2 separate regions of the Homo sapiens genome follow, and region 2 is linked to region 1. The links are contacts of gene promoters, found by promoter capture Hi-C in blood cells and fetal thymus (Javierre and others, 2016). All regions are on one chromosome and are shown on one strand. Each heading gives the region's core, a stretch centred on a gene start or on the middle of the fragment in contact. The rest is flanking DNA. Distances are from core to core; before and after follow the strand shown. Region 1 holds the start of TLE6 (TLE family member 6, subcortical maternal complex member). Region 2 overlaps CELF5 (CUGBP Elav-like family member 5).

The links. The method cuts DNA at HindIII sites, captures the fragments that hold promoters and counts their contacts. A CHiCAGO score of 5 or more calls a contact.
Region 2: a fragment that was not itself captured here is called in contact with the fragment with the promoter of TLE6 in region 1 in 1 of 17 cell types (M2 macrophages); the score reaches 6.5 in M2 macrophages.

What each region holds. Positions count from the first base shown.
Region 1 is chr19:2,971,902-2,978,813 of GRCh38, reverse strand. It overlaps TLE6 (TLE family member 6, subcortical maternal complex member), which reads right to left and starts at 1,250. Exons shown (of 17, transcript NM_001143986.2): 1 at 1,204-1,250; 2 at 530-616. The coding sequence starts at 580. RefSeq lists a silencer at 1,219-1,528. The HindIII fragment of the contact is 27,309 bases long and covers 1-1,847 here.
Region 2 is chr19:3,233,541-3,240,643 of GRCh38, reverse strand. The region is part of intron 1 of CELF5 (CUGBP Elav-like family member 5); the gene reads right to left. Among named protein-coding and RNA genes, the nearest start is that of CELF5, 12 kb to the right of the region's middle. The HindIII fragment of the contact is 7,916 bases long and covers 1-5,419 here.

The DNA.
Region 1 (6,912 bases), core at 1-2,500:
AATACATGATGTGTTCCTGTGTTTTTATCACATATGTGATTAGATGCTACATTTTTTTTTAGATGGGATCTCACTGTCACCAAGGATGGAGTGCAGTGGCACCATCATAGTTCACTGCAGCCTCAAACTCCTTGGGCTCAAGCCAACCCTCTGCCTCAGCCTCCCAAGTAGCTGCAACTACAGGCCCACGTCACTAGGCCCAGCTGATTCTTCTAGTTTTATTTTTTACAGAGACAGGGTCTCACTACGTTGTCCAGGCTGGTTTCAAACTCCTGGGCTCAAGTGGTCCTCCTGCCTCGGCCTCCAAAAATGTTGAGATTACAGTTGTGAGCCACAGTGTCCAGCCTACACTTAATTTTTTTTAAAAAACACGGCTCCTTGGCACCTGTCTTGAGTGTAGCAGCGACCAGTATTGTCTTCAGCTGCGAGGCCTGGGCGGGGCCAGCCCAGGTCACAGGTGGAAAAGGGGCAGAACCACATTGGGCCCGGGTTTCCCTTGAGGGCTGATCCCACCACATGCCCTCCTCACCGAAGTGCTTTTCGGGGGGCCCTTGGGTCTGGGCTGGTCCCTAGAGGTCATCTTCAAGGCAGTAGCCTCCAAGACTTTAGCCAGAGTCTAAAACAACAAGGAGACGGCAGGTCTTGAGGGACAGAAAATAAGGCAGTGCCAGGGAAGCAAGGCACCCGTTACCCCACCCGCACCTCCCAGTTTGGTAAGTCTCCAGGGACCCAATCCTGCGGTTCTCCCATGCGTTCCCTAGGTCCTGTCCTCACTTATCAATGCCTCCAGCTGCCCAGATTCATGGGGGCGGGGACCCAGAAAGAACTGAGCCTTGCCTCCCAGGCCTCACCCTAGGAGGCTGGGGTGGATAGTGCACATACACTCCCTGCTGGGGGCAGTCAGGGACGGGGGAGCCCAGGGAAGGTCGCCAAAGCTCAACCTTAGTTTTGAGACAATTTCCTAAAGCGCAGGGAGATCACTAGAAAGGGGTTTTGAAGGATGACTAGGAGTTAGCCAGGTGCATTAGGCGGAATTCATCAGACAGAAGAAACGACCTCTCTCCACCTCCATCCCTGCTGCAGCACCCAGCTTCTTCCTTGCCTCAGTCCTGCCCCTCCACGCCCCTGCAGCCCCTTCCCCGGCCGGGAATCCTGGAGTCCCCCCAGCCCCCTAGAACACGCCTGGCAACTCACGTCCCTCACCGGGCGGAAGCTGCGGAGGTCAGCCAAGTTCAGGCCAAGAGGAAACTCCTCCTTCCCCCACCGGGGGCCATTTGACCCATCGGGCCCCGCCTCGTCCCGCCTTGTCCCCGCCCCGTCCCGCCCAGGCCCCACCCAGCCGCCACCTGGACCGCGAAGCAGATCAATGAAGGCGCAGTAGCTGCACGTGGGTTCGGGCTCCGGGGGGGGCAGGCCTCTGGCGGCGCCGGCCAATAGCGAGGCCGTTTACGCACGTGGGTCGCGTACGCCCTCCCTGATTGGTCGGCTCTCCCCGGCCGCCGGCCATGCTGTCACTCAGCGAGCCGGGAGCCTCTGCTTTACCCTTTCGGTCCCGCTGCCGGGAAGGGCGGACTTGCAGAGCTATAGGCAATTTGGGGTCCCAGCGGGGGCGGGGATATTTAGGAGGGCGTGGGGCTTGAGGCTCAGAGGCTGGAACTTGGGCAGGGATAGGTGGCGAGTAGTTGCATTGTTTTACGCATTTTTAGCCTTGTCCGGAAGTGGCTTATGGCTGGAGGTGAGGAGTGGGAGGTGGGTGGGTTCAATCTTTAGCGCTGTCACCCCAATTCTTAGATACGGGCTAATTACATTTTCCTCAATATTAAATAACGTGCAATGCAAACGAAGCTTCAAGTCCTCTTTCTGGAGCCAACTTACTGGGTCCCCTTGATGGTCCCAGCCCCGGGCTATGCATTTATCACCGAATTTTCCCAACTGCTCTTCCAGCCCAGTGACAAAGGCTCTGAGAGCAGAAAGCGGGACAGCAGAGGCCCTGAGGCTGATACAGTATTGCCGGATGCAAGCGCGGGGTGGGAGAGAGTGGTGGGTATTCCAGACGGAGGGAATAGCGGAACCTCTCAGGCAGAGCTGGGCTGGTTACAGGAGCAGCCAGGGAGGCTAACGGGGCTGCGTGCACTCCGAACAGGCCTGGGATGATTTCCGAGAGGTAAGTGGGTTGCTGCAGAGCGAGAGAAACCTGCTGTGTGGGGTCGTGGGGATAGGAGTAAGGGGATTTCGGAGTTTTGTTTTGGCCTATTCAAAATATGAAGCCAAGTCACCATGGCTCACACCTGTGATCCCAGCATTTTGGAAGGCTGAGGTGGGAGGATTGCTTGAGGCCAGGAGTTGGAGACCAGCCTGGGCAACACAGTGACACCGCGTCTCTACAAAAAATTTAAAAATTAGCCAAGTGTGGTGGTCATGCACCTGTAGTCTCAGCTACTGGGGAGGCTGAGGCAGGAGGATGGCGTAAGCCCAGGAGGTTGAGTCTGGAGTGAGCTATGATCGTGCCACTGCACTCCAGTCTGAGCAACAGAGCAAGACTCCATCTCAAAAAAATATATAGCTATAATATATATAAAGTATATATATTATATATATAGTGGTCAAGCTGCAGTTCTGGAGTGAGAGCCCGTTTCTTTCTGTTTGGCCCAGGACCTGGTACTGGCATTAGCAGTTCACTCTGCCAGGGACAGTCTCTCTCAGACAGCCACCGGCTGGCTCCTTACTCCCTCAGCTCCCTACTTAGAAATCACCACGTTGGGCCAGGTGCTGTGGTGCACGCCTGTAATCCCAGCACTTTGGGAGGCAGAGGTGGGTGGATCATCTGAGGTCAGGGGTTCGAGACCAGCCTGGCCAACATGGTGAAACCCCAGCTTGGCCGGGTCACACCTGTAATCCCAGAACTTTGGGAGGCCGAGGCGGGTGGATCACGAGGTCAGGAGATCGAGACCATCCTGGCTAACACGGTGAAACCCCATCTCTAATAAAAAATACAAAAAAATTAGCCGGGCGTGGCGGTGGGTGCCTGTAATCCCAGCTACTGAGGAGGCTGAGGCGGGAGAATGGCGTGAACCCGGGAGGCGGAGCTTGCAGTGAGCCAAGATTGCGCCACTGCACTCCAGACTGGGCGACAGAACAAGACTCTGTCTCAAAAAAAAAAAAAAAAAAAGAAAACCCCAGCTCTACTAAAATACAAAAATTAGCCAGGCATGGTGATAGGCACCTGTAGTCCCAGCTACTCTGGAGGCTTAGGCAGAAGAATCACTTGAACCTGGGAGGCGGAGGTTGCAGTGAGTCGAGATTGTGCCACTGCACTTCAGCCAGGGTGACACAGCAAGACTCTGTCTCAGAAAAAAAAAAAAAAAATCACCACATCAGGCCAGGCGTGGTGGCTCACGCCTGTAATTCCAGCACTTTGAGAGGCCGAAGCAGGAGATCACTTGAGGTCAGGAGTTCCAGACCAGCCTGGCCAACATGCTGAAACCCTACCTCTACTAAAAATACAAAAATCAGCCGGGCACGGTGATGCACATCTGTAATCCCAGCTACTTGAACCTGGGAGGCAGAGGTTGCAATGAGCCAAGATGTCGCCATTGCACTCCACCCTGGGCGACAGAGTACTCTGCCTCAAAAGAAGAAAAGAGTTCATGACCAGCCTGGCCAACATGGCAAAACCCCATCTCTACTAAAAATACAAAGGTCAGCTGAGTGTGGTGGCAGACGCCTGTAATCCCAGCTACTTGGGAGGCTGATGCAGGAGAATCGCTTGAACCCGGGAGGTGGAGGTTGCAGTCAGCCAGGATCGTGCCATTGCACTCTAGCCTGGGCAACAAGAGTGAAACTCCATCTCAAAAAAAAAAAAAGAAGGGAGGGAGGGAGGGAAGGAAGGAAGGAAGGAAGGATCTCATTGAAGAGACCTCCCAACCCTCCCTTCCCTTCCCTATATTTCCCTTTATTTCCTCTTTTTTTTTTTAAACACAGGGCGAGGGGGAGGGGAGTCTCAGTACATTGCCCCGGCTGGTCTTGAACTCCTGACCCCAAGTGATCCTCCCACCTCCACCTCCCAAAGTACTATGGATTACAGGCATGAGCCACTGTGCCGCCACCGGGCCTGTATCTCCCTTTCTTATTTTATTTTTTTCCGAATGTGGTTTGGATTGCAGCTAATCTTGTAATCTCAGTGGCTCCTGTGGCGGGAGCCTCCCACGATAGCTCTAAGCCCTGCATGTTCTAAATGCAGAGAATGCTGTCAGGATTCTCCTACAGAGACGCCTCCCATCCTCTGACCTCCCCATGTGACACAAATGCCCGATAGGTCTGCTGACTTCAGATCCAAACCCAGCCAGAGAAACTCTTCCCTGTTTTCTGTTCTGTGCTCTCTCGCTGCGGGGAACTGAGGGTTTCAATGCTGGGACAAGTAGCCCCCAGAGGTGGTGATGTGCACACGTGACTTGGGTTTTGCAGCTGGTCCATGGAGAACAAAGGGAGGGGCCGTCATGAAAGACCTGCAGAAAAGCTTCCCACCCACGAACCCTCCACTGTCCCATAATTATTATTTTTTAATTTTTATTACTTATTTTTTTGAGACAGAGTCTCTCTCTGTCCCTCAGGCTGGAGTGCAGTGGCGCGATCTTGTCTCACTGCATCCTCCACCTCCCAGGTTCAAGCGATTCTCCTGCCTCAGCCTCCCAAGTAGCTGGGACTACAGGCGCCCGCCACCACACCCGCCTAATTTTTGTATTTTTAATAGAGATGGAGTTTCACCATATTGGCCGGATCGGTCTCAAACTCCTGATCTTGTGATCCACCTGCCTTGGTCTCCCAAAGTGCTGGGATTACAGGTGTGAGCCACCACGCCTGGCTATTATTATTATTTTTTTGTGACAGAGTCTTGCTCTGTCGCCCAGGCTGGAGTGCAGTGGCACGATCTTGGCTCACTGCAACCTTTGCCTCCTGGGTTCAAGCGATTCTTCTACCTCAGCCTCCTGAGTAGCTTGGATGACAGGCGCCCGCCACCACACCACCTCCAGCTAATGTTGTATTTTTAGTAGAGATGGAGTTTCACCATGTTGGCCAGGATGGTCTCAAACTCCTGACCTCAAGTGATCCACTCATCTCGGCCTCCTAAAGTGCTGGGATTACAGGCGTGAGCCACTGCACCCAGCTGCATAATTAAAGTGTGTTTTATTTATGGTCCAGCCTCCTAATATGGGCTTTGCTTTTTCCCCTCCCTCTGATTGTAGACTTTCAGCTGGGCACGTTGCTTTATCCAAGACTCACAGGGTTGTCTCACAGGGTATCCAGTAAGCACATGTGGCTATTTAAGTTAAAATTAATTAAAATGAAATACAATTTAAAATTCCATTCCTCAGGCACCCTGCCCGCATGTCAGGCGCTCAGTCGTCACTGGCGTCTGGGGGTCACCGTACTGGACAGCGAAGATCTAGAACATTCTGTCATCACAGAAAGTCCCAGTGGACAGCACTGATTGGAGGCTCCTAGGAAAGAGAAATTCCTCCAGGGTCCATGTAGAAATCGGAAGCACATTTTCAGTAGTCATTCCATTTCTACTCTTTTTTTTTTTTGAGAAGGGGTCTCACTCTGTTGCTCAGGCAGGAGTGCAATGGTGCAACCTCAGCTCACTGCAACCTCCACCTCCCGGGTTCAAGCGATTCTTCTGCCTCAGCCTCCTGAGTGGCTGGTATTACAGGCACGTGCCACCACACTCGGCTAATTTTTGTATTTTTAGTAGAGACAGGGTTTCATCATGTTGGCCAGGCTGGTCTCGAACTCCTGACTTCAGGGGATCCACCCCCACCTCGTTCTCCCAAAGTGTTGAGATTACAGGCCTGAGCCTTTTTTTTTTTTTTTTTTTTTGAGACAGGATCTCACTCTTGCTCAGGCTGGAGTGCGGTGGCACAATCTTGGCTCCCTGCAGTCCCAACCTCCTGGGCTCAAGCAGTCCTCCCGTCTCAGCCTCCCAAATAGGTGGGACCACAGGTGCTTGCCACCCAGCACACCCAGCTCATTTTTGTATTTTGTAGGGACAAGGTCTTCCTGTGTTGCCCAGGCTGGTTTTGAACTCCTGGGCTCAAGCGATTCTCCTGCCTCAGTCTCCTAAAGTGCTGGGATTACAGGGGTGAGCCACAGAGACTGGTCCATTCTGTTTCCCCCTGCCTTTTTTTTTTTTTTTTTTCCGAGATGGAGTCTCGCTCTATCACCCAGGCTGGGGTGCAGTGGTGTGATCTTGGCTCACTGCACCCTCTGCCTCCCAGGTTCAAGCAATCCTTCTGCCTCAGCCTCCTGAGTAGCTGGGATTACAGGTGTGCGCCACCATGCCCAGCTAATTTTTGTATTTTTAGTAGAGACAGGGTTTTGTATTTTTAGTAGAGACAGGGTTTCACCATGTTGGTCAGGCTGGTCTCGAACTCCTGACCTTGTGATCTGCCCACCTTGGCCTCCCAAAGTGCTGGGATTACAGGCGTGAGCCACCAGCGTGGCCCATTTCTCCCTGATTTAAAACCCCCGTGAGTGGGGTTGGAGGGAATTCCCTGGAGTGTGGTCACCCTGGGTCCTTCCCTTTGGCTGTGCCCTGGCCACTCCAGCCCAGCCAGCAGGGAGCAATTTCCCTTGACCCCTCAGGGAGGAGACAGATGACACAGCAGACAGGAAGGAAGGAAGCCAATATTTCCTCCTTGTTCTTGGCTTTTGAGTTGTTTGGTTGACTTGGAAACTCAAAGTCTAGAAGGTTTGAGACAAAAGGCATTTGCATTCCAAATACTTTGGAGTTTTTGTTTTACACAAGCAAACTACCTTGCTGGGTGCCGTGGTTCATGTCTGCAATGCCAGCACTTTGGAAGGCCAAGGCAGGACGATCGCTTGAGCCTAGGACTTCAAGACCAGCCTGGGCAA
Region 2 (7,103 bases), core at 212-2,711, 260 kb before region 1:
CAGAAGTGTGTGGTAGGGCCGGGCGCAGTGGCTCACGTCTGTAATCCCAGCACTCTGGGAGGCCGAGGCAGGTGGCTCACCTAAGGTCAGGAGTTCAAGACCAGCCTGGCCAACACGGTGAAACCCCCTCTCTACTAAAAATACAAAAACTAGCTGGGTGTGGTGGTTCATGCTTGTAGTCCCAGCTACGTAGGAGGCTGAGGCACAAGAATGACTCTTGAACCCGGGAGGCAGAGGTTGCAGTGAGTTGAGATTATGCCACTGCATTCCAGCCTGGATGACAGAGTGAGACCCCATCTCAAAAAAAAAGAAAGAAAGAAAAAGAAGGGCCAGGTGCAGTGGCTCATGCCTGTAATACCAGCACTTTGGGAGGCAGAGGCAGGCGGATCATTTGAGGTAAGGAGTTCAAGACCAGTCTGGCCAACATGATGAAACCCCGTCTCTACTAAAAATACAAAAATTGGCTAGGTGTGGTGGCGTGCACCTATAATTCCAGCTACTCAGCTACTCAGGAGGCTGAGGCAGGAGAATCACTTGAACTTGGGAGGTAAAGTTTGCAGTGAGCCGAGATCTCGCCACTGCGCTCCAGCCTGAGCAACAGAGCAAAACTCTTGCCTCAAAAAAAAAAAAAAAAGTGTGTTGCAGGAGATGGGGGATGCCATTGGAGGGGACAGATGAGGGTGAAACAGGCAAAGAACTGCTGGACTGATGTCAAGGGCAGTGGGGAGCCATGGAAGGTGTTTGAGCAGGGGTTGGGCATAGTCAGAGGTGTGTGCGGGAAAGAGCCTCCTGGGGCCAGCACGAAGAAGGGACTGGAGTGCAGGACAGAAGACTGGAGGCCAGTGAGGGGGCAGAGTCAAGGTCAGTATGGGAGAAGGTGAAGACTACCCCAGAGGGCCATGGGGACAAAGACAGGAAAATCTAAGGTAGGGCTTTGGTGGGGGACGAGGGGAGGGGAGGGAGGAGGCAAGGATGGCTGGGATGCACTTGGATGGTAGGGTGTGAGGATGTAATGGGTTGAATGGTGGCTCCCTGAAAAAGAGCTACATCCATCCTGAGCCTGGGCAACATAGTGAGACCCCAACTCTACTGAAAAAAAAAAAAAGTTAGCCGGGCATGATGGCTCACATCTGTAGTCCCAGGTACTCGGGAGGCTGAAGTGGGAGGATGGCTTGAGCCCAGGAGTTTGAGACGAGCCTGGGCAACACAGTGAGACCCCATCTCCAGTAAAAATTAAAAACAATTAGCCGGGCATGGTGGCACACACTTGCAGTCCCAGCTACTTGGGAGGCTGAGGCGGGAGGATTGCTTGAGCTCAGGAGTTTGCACCAGCCTGGGCAATGTAGTGAGACTTTGTCTCTAATAAAAAAAAAACAAACAGCTGGGTGTGGTGGTTCACACCTGTAGTTCCAGCTACTAAACGGGCTGAGGCGGGAGGATCCCTTGAGCCTGGGAGGTCGAGGCTGCAGCAAGCTATGATCATACCACTGCACTCCAGTCTGGGTGACAAAGTGAGACCCTGTCTCAAAAAAATTAAAATTAATTTTATAAAATTTTAAAAAAGATATAGCCACTCTGGAACCTGAAATGTGACCTGATTTGGAAAAAGAGACTTTGCAGATTTCAATAAGGAATTTGGGATGAAGTCAAGCTAGATGAAGGCAGGCCCCAAACACAAGGACAAGCATCCTTAATTTTTATTTTTTATTTTTATTTTGAGATGGAGTCTCGCTTTGTTGCCCAGGCTAGAGTGCAATGGTGTGATCTTGGCTCACTGCAACCTCCACCTACTGTGTTCAAGCAATTCTGCTTCAGCCTCCTGAGTACTGGGATTACAGGCACCCGCCGCCACACCCTGCTAATTTTGTATTTTTAGTAGAGACAGGGTTTCGTCATGTTGGCCAGGTTGGTCTCGAACTCCTGACCTCAAGTGAACCACCTGCCTCGGTCTCCCAAAGTGCTGGGATTACAGGCGTGAGCCACCACACCCGGCCTCAAGTGTCCTTATAACACAGAGGAGAGGAGACGCAGACGCACAGATGATGGAGCAGAGACCACAGTGATGCATCCATCAGCCAAGGACACCCGGAGTCCCCAGAAGCTGAAGAGGCAGGAAGGACCCTCCCCTTGGAGAAAGTGAGGCCCTACCCACACCTTGATAGCTGATTTCTGGCCTCCAGGACTGGGAGAGGCTGTTCCAAGCCCCCCAGTTTGTGGTCATTTGTTACAAAAGCCCTGGGACAACAAACCCAGGTAGGAACCCAGGAGGAGGTGCACTTTGGAAGAAAGACATGAACCCTGGTTTGGGCCCTGCGGGATCTCAGGGTTTGGGGGATATCAGAGGGAAGTACTGTCAGAAGCGTTTGAACCAGAGCAACTCCATCTTGAATAGGAGCTTGGTAACTGGGATTACAACTCTTGCCACTACTGCCCAGCTAATTTTTTATTTTTAGTAGAGAGGGGGTTTCGCCATGTTGGCCAGGCTGGGTCTTGAACTCCTGACCTCAAATGATCCATCTGCCTTGGCCTCCCAAAGTGCTGGGATTACAGGCGTGACCCATGGCGCCCGGCCAAGTTAGATATTCTCTTTTTTTTGAGACAGAGCCTCTCTCTTTCACCCAGGCTGGAGTGCAGTGGCGTGATCTCGGCTCACTGCAAGCTCCGCCTCCTGGGTTCACGCCATTCTCCTGCCTCAGCCTCCCGAGTAGCTGGGACTATAGGCGCCCGCCACCAGGCCCGGCTAATTTTTGTATTTTTTAGTAGAGACGGGGTTTCACTGTATTAGCCAGGATGGTCTCGATCTCCTGACCTCGTGATCCACCCGCCTCGGCCTCCCAAAGTGCTGGGATTACAGGCGTGAGCCACCGCGTCCGGCCTCAAGTTAGATATTCTTAATCACGAGATGAGATAGGAGGTTGGCAGAACGGTATCAAAAGATACAGGTCATAAAGACCCTGCTTATAAAACAGGATGTGGTAAATAAGCTGCCAAAACCCACTCAAACCAAGATGGGGGTGAAAGTGACCTCTGGTCATCCTCACTGCTCATTACATGCTAATTATAATGCATTAGCATGCTAAGAGACACTCCCACCCGCGCCACGACAGTTTACAAACGCCATGGCAACGTCTGCAAATTATCCTAAAAGTGGAGGACCCTTCAGCTCCAGGAACTGCCCACCCCTTTCCCGGGAAACTCATGAATAATCCACCTCTTGTTTAGCATATGGTCAAGGAGTAACCATAAAAACTGCCAACAAGCAGCCCAGGCGGCTGCTCTATGCAGTAGCTATTCTTTATTACTTTCCTTTTTTTTTTTTTTTTTTTTTTTTTGAGACGGAGTCGTGCTCTGTCACTCAGGCTGGAGTGCAGTGGCGTGATCTCGGCTCACTGCAAGCTCCACCTCCCAGGTTCACGCCATTCTCCTGCCTCAGCCTCCCGAGTAGCTGGGACTACAGGTTCCTGCCACCATGCCCGGCTAATTTTTTGTATTTTTAGTAGAGATGGGGTTTCACCGTGTTAGCCAGGATGGTCTCGATCTCCTGACCTCGTGATCCACCCGTCTCGGCCTCCCAAAGTGCTGGGATTACAGGCGTGAGCCACCACGCCTGGCCGGAGTAGCCATTCTTTATTACTTTACTTTTTTTTTTTTTTTTGAGATGGAGTCTTGCTCTGTCGTCCAGGCTGGAGTGCAGTGGCGCGATCTCAGCTCACTGCAATCTCCGCCTCCCGGGTTCAAGCGATTCTTCCACTTCGGCCTCCCAAGTAGCTGGTATTACAGGTGCAGGCCCGCCACCACACCCAGCTAGTTTTTTGTATTTTTAGTAGAGATGGGGTTTCACCATGTTGGCCAGGCTGGTCTCAAACTCCTGGCCTCAGGTGATCACCCACCTCGGCCTCCCAAAGTGCTGGGATTGTAGGCGTGAGCCATCGCGCCTGGCCTAGATTCATTTTTGTCCTTCCCCTCCCTGCCATGCCTAGCTCAGAGTCATTCAATATTCCTGAGCACCTACGATGCACCGATGGTGGTGGGGAAACAGAGACAGGGAATACATTGCTGTTCATCCTCTTCTTCTCTCCCCAGCCAGGAACCCCCCTCCCATCTCAACCCCTTTGATCCCGAACCCCCTGCATGGCAGGGGTCTCCAAGTTCTTAGTCTTTAACTCAGTTCTGTAATCTAGTGATTGGAGATAAGGATCAAAGCCAGCTCAGTACCTTTCTGCTGTGTGCTCTTGGGCCAGCCACTTAACCTCTCTGAGCCTTCACAGTCTCATCCACCAAATGGGAACCACGAGGCCACACATGCACTGAAAAGGACACAGGACCCTCCCTTCTCCACCTACTCAGCTTTGCTGCTCATCCTCTCCACTTCCTCCTCCACCTTCCTAGCCCAAAGTTCTCCCCAACTTCACTAGGAAAACCGAGACAGACGGGCTCTCTGCCCCCTTTTTACTGTCCCTCAATGCACGCATAAATGCCTTGATTCCTGTGCTGAGGCCCTGGTGTCCTCCTCCTGGACCCTATGTCAACCATGCTGCCTCCAAATGAGGTCCAGCCCTGCTGGCTGTGGCTCCTCAGCCTCCATGCTGCCTGCTCCTCTCCACAGCCTGACATATGGGGGTTCCTTGAGGCTCATTCTAGACCCCAGATCTCTCGCCCAGGCATCTTGACTCCTACGGCTTCAGTCCCCATCACTACACCAGAAATTTCCCCATCCATACACCCACCCAACTGTCCACCCATCCACTTGTCCATCATCCAATCAACCATCCTCCCACCTATTCATCCATCCATCCATTCATTCATCCATCCATCCATCCATCCACACATCCATCCATCCATCCATCCATCCATTCATCCATCCATCCATCTATCCACCCATCCACACATCCATCCATCCATCCATCCATCCATCCACCCATCCACACATCCATCCATCCATCCATCCATCCACCCATCCACACATCCATCCATCCATCCATCCATCCATCCATCCACTCATCCACCCATCCACCCACCCACCTATTCATCCACCCATCCATTCATTCATCCATCCACCCACCCATCCACACATCCATCCACCCATCCACTCATCCACCCATCCACCCACCCACCTATTCATCCATCCATCCATCCACCCACCCACCCATCTATCCTCGCGTGATGTTCAAAGCACTCTTTTAGGCACTGGTGACACAGCAGTACACACAAAGGTGAAAATCTCTGTGCTAATGAGGCTTACAGTCTATTAGGAAGGAGAAAAAGCAAATAAAATTAAAAGCGATATATATAGTATGTTAGAGGTCTTCATTTGCACAGGAAAAAAAAAAGGAAAGGAGGAAAAAGGAACTTGGAGTTCTGGGAGTGACTAGATTACAAATCCTGCCATCACAGGGGTTTCACAAAAAAAGGTGAAGCTTACAGAAGAGAAAGGAAGGAGCTATGTGAGTATCTGGGGGAAGAACATTTATGCAGAGGGCACAGCCCATGCAAAGGTCCTGGAGTAGGACCACGCCTTGCCTGTTGCAGAAACAGCAAGGAGGCCAGTGTGGCTGGAACAGAGGGAGCGAGGAGGAGAGAGGGGGCAGGGGATGGTATGAAGGGGATGAGGCAGGTCACGGGAGGACTTCAGCTTTGACTCTAAGGGAGGTGGGAGCCACGGAGGGCTGCAGGCAGAGGAGGGACGGGTCCTGACTCAGGTGCTCACAGGCGCTCTCTGGTGGCTGCTGCGGGGAGGACAGACTGTGGGGCGCGAAGGTGGGAGCCAGGGACAAGGGCACAGGGACTGCACTGGTCCAGGTGAGGGATGAGGGGGCTGGACCAGGTGAAGGCAGAGGAGAGAGAAGTGGGCAGATTCTGGAGAGGTTTTGAAGGCAGAGCCATCAGAATCTGCTGATGGAGGGATAGGAGGTGCGGTTGTTGTTGTGAGAGAGGGAAGTCAAGGGCATTCCCAGGTTTTGTCCTAGGTACCTTCAGGCCTCATCCCCAGGACACTGCACTGTGTGCCAACTGCCCAAGCCAGGTCACTGGTGTACCCTGGACCAGGGTTTCTCAGCTTCTGCACCGTGGATGCTTGGGGCCGGATCATCTGTCACCCTGGGCGCTGTGGGGTATTGAGCAGCATTCCTGGCCTCCACCCACTCGACACCACTCGCAGCCAGAAGCACCCCCAAATCATGACAACCACAAATGTCTCCAGACATTGCCAAGTGTCCTAGAATAACTCCCATTGAGAACCACATCATGGCTGGGCGCGGTGGCTCACACCTACGATCTCAATGCTTTGGGAGGCCAAGGCGGGAAGATTGCTTGAGCCCAGGAGTTTGAGACCAGCCTTAGCAACATAGTGAGATGCCAATCTCTTGAAAGAGGGAGGGAGAGAGAGAGAGAGAGAGAACGAACCACATCACTAGATCCCTTCCTCTTCCTCGCCTCCCTTGCCAAGAGCTGGTGAATTGACCTCCCCTCCTCTACCTGGGCCTCCATTTCCCTATGTGTACAAAGTTCTTCTGGTGGCTCCTAGCTCTGCTAGAGGCATGCCCTCTGGTCCTTCCCCCTAGTGGAGGGTCAGGGACAAGAATGCAAATCCTCTTGGATATAAAGACCCCACCCTCAAAGGCTGCTGGGAGAATGGGAGGGCACTGAGGGGCCTGCTCCACTCTGTCTTCCAGCTACCTCCAGGCGCCGCCGTCTTCAGGAGCTCCTCAGAAGAGCCAGGCATAAGCCTAGTGGCAGAACTTCCTGACACATTCTAGGGCCTTCTGTGCCTTAGTTTCCCCATCTAAAAAATGGAGGACCCAGAATCCACATTGTCCATATTCCCCTGAGAGACCCTGTCCCTCCCCTGCCACAGGTCTCCATGGCTCCACCTCTCTTGGGGTAAAAACCAAAGTCCTTCCAAGACACACAGAACCCGCTCAACAACCTGCGCGACTCCCTCTCTGCCCTCTTCTCCTCCCTCTCTCCCCCTCCTCACTCTGCTCCAGCCACAAGGGCCTCCTTGCTGTTCCTCCAACACACCAGATGTGGTGGTCCTGCCTCAGGGCCTCTGCACTCTTCCTGGAACGCCTTTCCCTTGGTTGTAGCATAACAGCCTTCCCATC